2 separate regions of the Homo sapiens genome follow, and region 1 is linked to region 2. Evidence: promoter capture Hi-C in 16 types of primary human blood cells and fetal thymus (Javierre and others, 2016). All regions are on one chromosome and are shown on one strand. Each heading gives the region's core, a stretch centred on a gene start or on the middle of the fragment in contact. The rest is flanking DNA. Distances are from core to core; before and after follow the strand shown.

What was found. Contacts are between HindIII fragments. The CHiCAGO score rates a contact against its expected background, and 5 or more counts as called.
Region 1: a contact is called between a fragment that was not itself captured here and the fragment with the promoter of CLCN5 in region 2, in 3 of 17 cell types (non-activated CD4 T cells, neutrophils and total CD8 T cells). The highest score is 11.1, in non-activated CD4 T cells.

The regions. Positions count from the first base shown.
Region 1 is chrX:52,262,181-52,266,087 of GRCh38, forward strand. LOC105377209 (a long non-coding RNA gene) reads right to left here and starts at 3,751. Exons shown (of 4, transcript XR_938385.3): 1 at 3,568-3,751. RefSeq lists an enhancer at 1-497. The HindIII fragment of the contact is 2,389 bases long and covers 1,321-3,709 here.
Region 2 is chrX:49,921,024-49,924,431 of GRCh38, forward strand. CLCN5 (chloride voltage-gated channel 5) reads left to right here and starts at 1,573. Exons shown (of 15, transcript NM_001127898.4): 1 at 1,573-1,769; 2 at 2,384-2,459. RefSeq lists a silencer at 1,835-1,884. The HindIII fragment of the contact is 4,286 bases long and covers 1-2,336 here.

The sequences.
Region 1 (3,907 bases), core at 1,265-3,764, 2.3 Mb after region 2:
CGGATCCTCCCCGGCGACCTCAGCGCCCCCGGGGCTGACCAGGCCGCGGCCGGCTCTCCTCCGTCTTGAGGGGGCCTCCTCCTCCCCACCTAAGTCTCCTCCGCGCGCGGTAATGCTCTGGGCCTCAGGAAAGACCGCGCCCCTTCACGATGTCTATTTCTTGCATCCCGCACTCTCATCATGGGCAGCACCCCATCCAGTCCTAACAGCTCCCTCTCTCCAATGTCCCAGCATCCACAGCCTTCAGCCTCAAGGAGGCCTGTCCACTGACCCCAACCGCGTTCCTCACCATTCACCTTCCTTACCCAGCTTACTCAAAGCTATTAACTCTCGCTCCTCAAACGCATCTCTTCATTTTCCTTCCTCCCTACTCGCCTGGCAACCCCCTGCCTTCCCCCGCCCCCCTGTAACCAAGTAGACAAACAATGTGCACCCTCCACAAGTGTACCTTCTCTCTCCTCTCCCTACAATAGCCCCCACAAGGACTAGCACCAACTCTTCTCATGATATTCCTTGATATTCCCCTGAAAAAACAGGAGCGATTGGAGAGAAACTCTCACCACTTCCCAACAGCAGTGGGCCTGCACTTGTAATCTCAGCTGCCCCACTGGAGGAAGTGACAGGATCCTACTTGAGGCCGGGCCTTCACCTGAATCCCATGCCCTCTACCTTCTCAAGGTAGAGACTTTTGTAGTGATTATCCCTTATTCCTGAATTGTCACATTCTTTCTTTATTCTGGATTCTTCTGTCATCTATAAACATGCTCTTGTTTCTGACATTTTATACAAAATGTAATAAAACAGAAATCAGTTCCTTATCCCATATTTCTCCAAGGTAATGACACATTTCCCTGATGCTCCAAGCAGCAAATCTGTCTTCCCTTGTTCTATAATCATTATCATTACAAACCTCTTCAATGCAGCTTCTACCTGCTCACCTCTCAACAGAAAAATGCTTTTGTTAAAGGCACCGATGGCCTTCATATTGCCTAACACTATGATCACGTCCTCATCCTTTTACACTATATGTCCAGATGCCTTCAGTACATCTGACACCTCCCTCCTTCTCAAAGCTACTCTCCTCCCTCCTTCTTTATTTCCCTCCCTGTCTTCTCTCCTCTTTGCCCTGCCTTGTTTTTCTTCTTAATCATAAAATTATTTTATTGATATTTTAAGTGGCATAAATACAATAAATTTGAGGGAGAATGAGGAAGATGTTAGCTAATGAATAGGTCATGTAGGCCTCCACAAAGCTTCAGGACTAATACAGACATGAACAGACACCTGAGCTTGCCCTTGTAACTCCGCGAACACACCACAAGCTTCAGGATAGTTTGTCTCTGATGCTCAAGTAGTCTCAGGAGTTACCAGACAATGGTGGGGAGAGATAGCTTAGAAGTGACGCTCTCTGTACACACATATAAAAACCGCTGATGCAGCACCTTGTAGGCCCCTTTTAAAGCGTGATGATTCCTGTGATGGTTAATACTGAGTGTCAACTTGACTGCATTGAAGGATGCAAAGTATTGATCCTGGGTGTGTCTGTGAGGGTGTTGCCAAAGGAGATTAACATATGAGTTAGTGGGCTGGGAAAGGCAAACCCACCCTTAATCTGGGTGGGCACCATCTAATCAGCAGCCAGTGCGGCCAGAATGTAAGGCAGGCAGAAAAACGTGAAGAGACTAGGCTGGCTCAGCCTCGCAGCCTACATCTTTCTCTCATACTGGATGCTTCCTGCCCTCGAACATCAGACTCCAAGATCTTCAGCTTTGGACCCAGACTGGCTTCCTTGCTCCTCAGCTTACAGATGGCCTATTGTGGGACCTTGTGATCGTGTGAGTTAATACTACTTAATAAACTCCCATATAGATATATATATATTACTTTTGTCCCTCTAGAGAACCCTGACTAATACAACTCCCTTTGAACTCCAAGTTTATTTTTACAGAGAGCTTGTCCTGCTACTGACAGTGTATTGACTTGTATTTGGTAATCCCTTCCATTTTGTGTTTCTTTATCTGTTAGTCAATCTCCTTCAAACATTCCAAATAAATTTGAATTCTACAAGAGAAAGTACAAATCCTAAAGCCTTCCCTTTATGATCTGGATTTAATATGGGAATCCTTATGTCAACATGAAAGATAAGGAAAACAAAAGAATGTTCTGTTCCAGTCATGGGGGAGTAGAAGGCATGGAGACAGTGTCTCATCCCAGTCTCTCTTCTAAGGGCCTTATCTTACATGTGACAGGTGTGTCAGAGAAGTGGAAGGGAGTTCCAAATAAAGAGATTTTTGCCCAACTGAAATTTAGGACTCAGAAGTTTACTTTTGCAGGATGAAATAGTGAGCTCCTTGGTTAGAATAATGGCTGGAGTTCAGGAATTTCTATTTTTGGAGCTGATCTTGGTTCCTGCAGGGAGCTAACATTCTCTGAGAGGGGGACTGTGGAAGTGGCTGATTCAAGAGCCAGGGGTGCTACCATGAAACAAGCATAAGCCAGATAGGGGCTAGGTGACCCTGCAGCTGAGGCTGTGGTGTGGACAGCCCTGCCCAGATGTGGGAGGGAGATGAGGCCCAGATTCAGAGGGGTCTGCTGATGCCAGCACGGGTGGGCCAAGGCCGAGTCAGCCTGGGAGCACCAGATTCCCTCACAAGCCACCGAGAACACTGCAATCAACATAAGATGTCACCGACCCCTTCCCATTATCACCATGAAGACTGGAAAGCCATACGCACCATTAATCATCTTGGAAAGGAGTAGGGAGGTGGGGCAGAAAACTGGGAGACTGATCATTTTCAGCAAAACAGGGTGAGCATTTATACAAATGGACCATTCACATGATAGCATCAGCTGACACCAGATTAAACATAACTCCAGTATTTTCTCACCTTCTTGTCCAGTACAGAGGTTATACATTCATAATGAAGATCAGATCAGTCTTAGCAAGTAAATGCATCAAAGCCCCCAATCAGGTCTGAGAAGCACGAATTAATTTGTGGTCTCTGCACACCATCTCTTCCAGCTCCCCCTCTGCCCACTGTCTTATCAGTCCGTGGAAGAGGGCATTGAGACATCCTTGCCTCCTCTTCTCCTTTAACCGAGGACAATTTTAACCTGTTATAAATTGACCCTGACAACAGAGCACAGAAAGAGGAGAGGACCAGAAGAGAGACACACAGAGTGGAGTAACAGATGAGAGTTATTGCTGAGGTGAGCAGGGCCTCCTCAAGGCTTACAGCTGCCCTCCACAAGTGATACCAGGCTCCACTGCCCTTTATGAACACAGAAATTCTTTCTCAGGGTCTATGCCCTGGAGCTTAGAGTCAGAAAATATTCGTAGCTCTGTGTACTGCTGGAGAAAATCACAGAACCACATGTTAGAACCACTGCATTTTCATAGTCATCATTGTCTCCTGGGATCTCAGTGCCCAGCAGCAGGCTTTCTTGGTGACTCTTGTCCCCCCTCCAGTCCCTTCTGAGGGGATCCCAAGATTTCTCCTCTCTCCTGGAACCCTCTACCACACATCTATCCCCTCGCTTTTAGCCATAGCAAATTCCCATTCTCACCTGAGATCCAAGCAGGTAGTGAGAGGGAGGAAGGCCTCAGTGCTGGAAAGGGGTATGGATTCCGTTGTCTTGGCAACATTCTTCTTCACATCGGCACTGGGTCACTCAGCTCAGATCCATGGTTGGTTACCTGGGAAACTGAAGCTTTATCCATCTGACTCCAGAGAATAGCAAACAAAAGAGTGGAAACTAAGAGGATTATCATGGGAGGCCACCCACAGACATGGAATCGTGACTCTCAATAGATGTGTTTGTCACAAGGGTCCTTGCACATGCAGAGACAATGTACATGTGTTTACTCAGTAGCACTCATTGCTCCCTAGAGGAGCACAGTGACTAT
Region 2 (3,408 bases), core at 323-2,822:
AACACACAGATAAAACCAGATGCAAATTTAACAGAGAACAATATTTCTTTGGCGGACATATTGCAGCTGTAAAGTGGTAACGATGTTTTTATTTCAGTGACCACCACTTTTTTATTCACTGAGAGACTTTGTTCTCTAAAATCGTAGATTATCAGAAACTTTTCTGCTTGAAATCGTATCAGTAAGAATGAAACATCCCACATGCATCTGGAGGACATAAGTTTCTTTGACACAGAGAAGCAGCCTCAATTTCCAACCCAGGTGCAGAGCTTCAGATAAGGGGTATCTGGACACAACATTCCACATCTATCTTTATTTTGTGGTTCCCAAGGAAACACAACTCTGGGTTCACTTTGCAGTTCAGACCTGATGGTGACCCCAAATGACAGTACTGCTTTGCTTTGAGCTTACCAAAAACACTGCTTTGTTTAAAATTCACCTAAACTCCACTCTTCTCTCCAATCCTATAATGACTCCATGTTTTTCTGTTTGATGAAATGCCTACCGTGTGCAGTCTCTCATATTGCAATGGGTCAAAGCCTGACTATGTCGGATTACAAATTTGTCCCCGGTAGCCTTATGCTGATTGGGCTAGGATAGGGGTTTTTAAATCCCTGACCACTTAGCTTGTCCAAAGTAGGCATTCCAAATTGTTCACTGCAGTAGAGTACCCTGGTTCTAGTTAGATTACTTGGATTATATGGATTCCAGTCTCAGGTCTGCCAAGAACTAATTAGCTGGATCATCTTAAGTGAGTCAGTGCACCCCATTTGGCCTAAGTTTTCTCTTCTGCAAAACGGTGTGCTGTTTCTTTCAAACCTAGGGTAAGGGCTTTGGAGTAAGTTAGACCTAGGTTGGATTCCCAGTTCTACCACGTACTAGTCCTGTGACTTCAGCTTTTCTGAGCCTCTGTTTTGTAATGATTAATATGGAGATAATACAGTACTAACAACTGCAGTATAGTTTTTGCAGCGTTGCTGGAAACATCAAGTTGGCTGTTAAAAGTATCACTACGTTTGATCACTATTCCTATTCCTACTATTATATGAGTTTAGACAAGTTACTTAACCTTTCTGTGCCTGTGTATTTTTATGAGTAAAAATGGAGAAATAACCCTCGGGGTTATTGTGAACACCAAATGAGACGAAAAAAGTAAAGGGGTTAGGAGAGTGCCTGGCACATAAGAAGCAGCTCAAATTATGTGATCTAATGTTATTAGTATTAGATTTCTACTACTAATTACTCTGTGGGCCGAAAGCTCAGGATAGACAGTTTCATTCTAAGGACAAACCTTCTCCCCAGCAAAAAAAGGCACTGCAAGCTGGAAATAGTGAAACACAATGGGGCATTGCGTTTTCAAAGGCAACTGACACGCCCAGCACTGGGATAGGACCCGCCCGCCCAGTCCTCATTAAATATGGCAGCGAGCGGGGCCGACGTACTGCGGCTGCGCAAGTTGAAACTCCTCCTGGCAGCTCCTCCCCGGCGGGCCTCCCCTCATCTCGGCTGGGTAGAGGTGCCGGGTGTGAGCTCGGCGTGGCGCGCACGCGCAGACGCTGGCTGGGCTGAGCCGATACTCGCGAGGCGCCCTGTCACATGAGCCGCGCGCCCGCTTCGCTCCCCCTCCTCCCCGGCTGGGCTGTGTGAATGAAGCTCTGCCGGCTACGTGGGGCGCTCACTCAACTTGGTGTCCTGGACGCCAGAGCCGACCGAGCGCGCTGCCCACCGGCGGCGGACACGGGCTCCGCCGCTCCGGACCTCGGCGACAGGTAAAGGCAAACGGGCTGTCCCTTCCCCAACAGGTCCTTGGCGGGCCGCTGGCCCCCGGCCCACCCCCGGAGCACCCCCTAAGCGCAGCGACACAGGGGAAGCGCAATCCCGCTGGCTTGGACCCCCGGAGATGGGGCTTCCCCGCGCCCGGCGTTGGCAGCCCGGCGCTTAGAGGAGGTAGACAGGCTAGTTCCAGCCAGTGCTGAGCGGCGTCTTCCCGGGAGCCCAGCCCTGTTCTCCGAGTTATGGTCCCTGGGTTGCCCGAGCGAAGTTTCCTTGCGGAGCGGCGCCAAGCCCGCCCCGCTTTTGAATCGGAGTGTTTAGCCGCCTGCGTCCCCTTTCCCGGACTGGGGTAGGGTGACTTAGGCTGGCAAAGCTCAGCCGAGGCCCGGCTCTTCTCCCTCCGGCTCTGGACTTGCCGCTGGTTTTGTATGGGTCTTAGCAAAGTGGAGAAACTCTCGGAAAAGTAGTTGCTGCGCTGTTTTCCTTTTGCCACTTAACGCGCGTAGCTGGTTCTCTCCAGACTTTCGAGCCTTGCTCTTGAGCGCCTTGATCCACACGGGAAAAGCTTTGCCTTTACATTGACGCACGTTTCCTTTGATTAACATTTCAGAGCAAATCAGTTGCCTGGAGTTCCCAGTGAAGTTGTACCTGTGCCCGTGCGATAACGTCAGTGGAAGCTGCCCCGAGTAAGTGAGGGAAATCTAGAAGTTTGGAGCATAAAAAACCAGCACGAATCAACTTTACATAAACTTCATACATTTATTAGCAACTGCTCGGGTTTAACTTCAGGGATGTTAAATTTCGCCTAGTCCCACGGGACGATGATCATTACTTCTTAACTGCACGCGAAATAGGAGAAGAAAAAAGGCAAATCAAAACAGACTGTCCCAGGTCTCAGAGAAGTCATCGGAGCGCTTTTTCCTGCTGAATTCACCCTAGGAGTTTGTGAGTTCCTAGTTTTCTTGGACTTCGCGAACTTTTCCTTGTCCAAAGCACTGTCTTTTCTCTGTTGGTGTTTTGGGACTGGTGTACACATTAACCCTTTTGTCATTAAAGAAGGCCAACACGATTCTCAAGCTAGTATTAGCCTTCAGTGTTTGTGCTTTAGCACTTTCACTTAGGAGGTGGAGGTGTTGGTTGTATAAAAGATATGGAAATAACAATCTACTTTGATGTTCACCAGGTCAAAAAGGTGAAGACTTTTAGAAAAAACAGATTGGCTTGTATGCTAAGTAGGGAAGACCAGTTTATTAACTGAGATCTTGTTTAAATGGGCAAGCAGAGTGTTAAGCCTCTAAGTCAAACTAAGTCGTCAGACCTCTCATTTTTTCTCCCATTCCTAGCTCCTATTTTTTTTTTTTTTTTTGGTTTGAGCCGGCTCTCGTTCTGTCGCCCAGGCTGGAGTGCAGTGGCACAATCTTGGCTCACTGCAACCTCCGCCTCCCTCCCGGGTTCAAGCGATTCTCCTGCCTCAGCCTTCCGAGTAGCTGGGATTACAGGCGTCACTTGTAATTATAGTGCACCGCCATACCTGGCTAATTTTTGTATTTTTAGTAGAGACGGGGTTTCACCATGTTGGCCAGGCTGGTCTCGAACTGACCTCAGGTGATCCGCCTGCTTCGGCCTCCCAAAGTG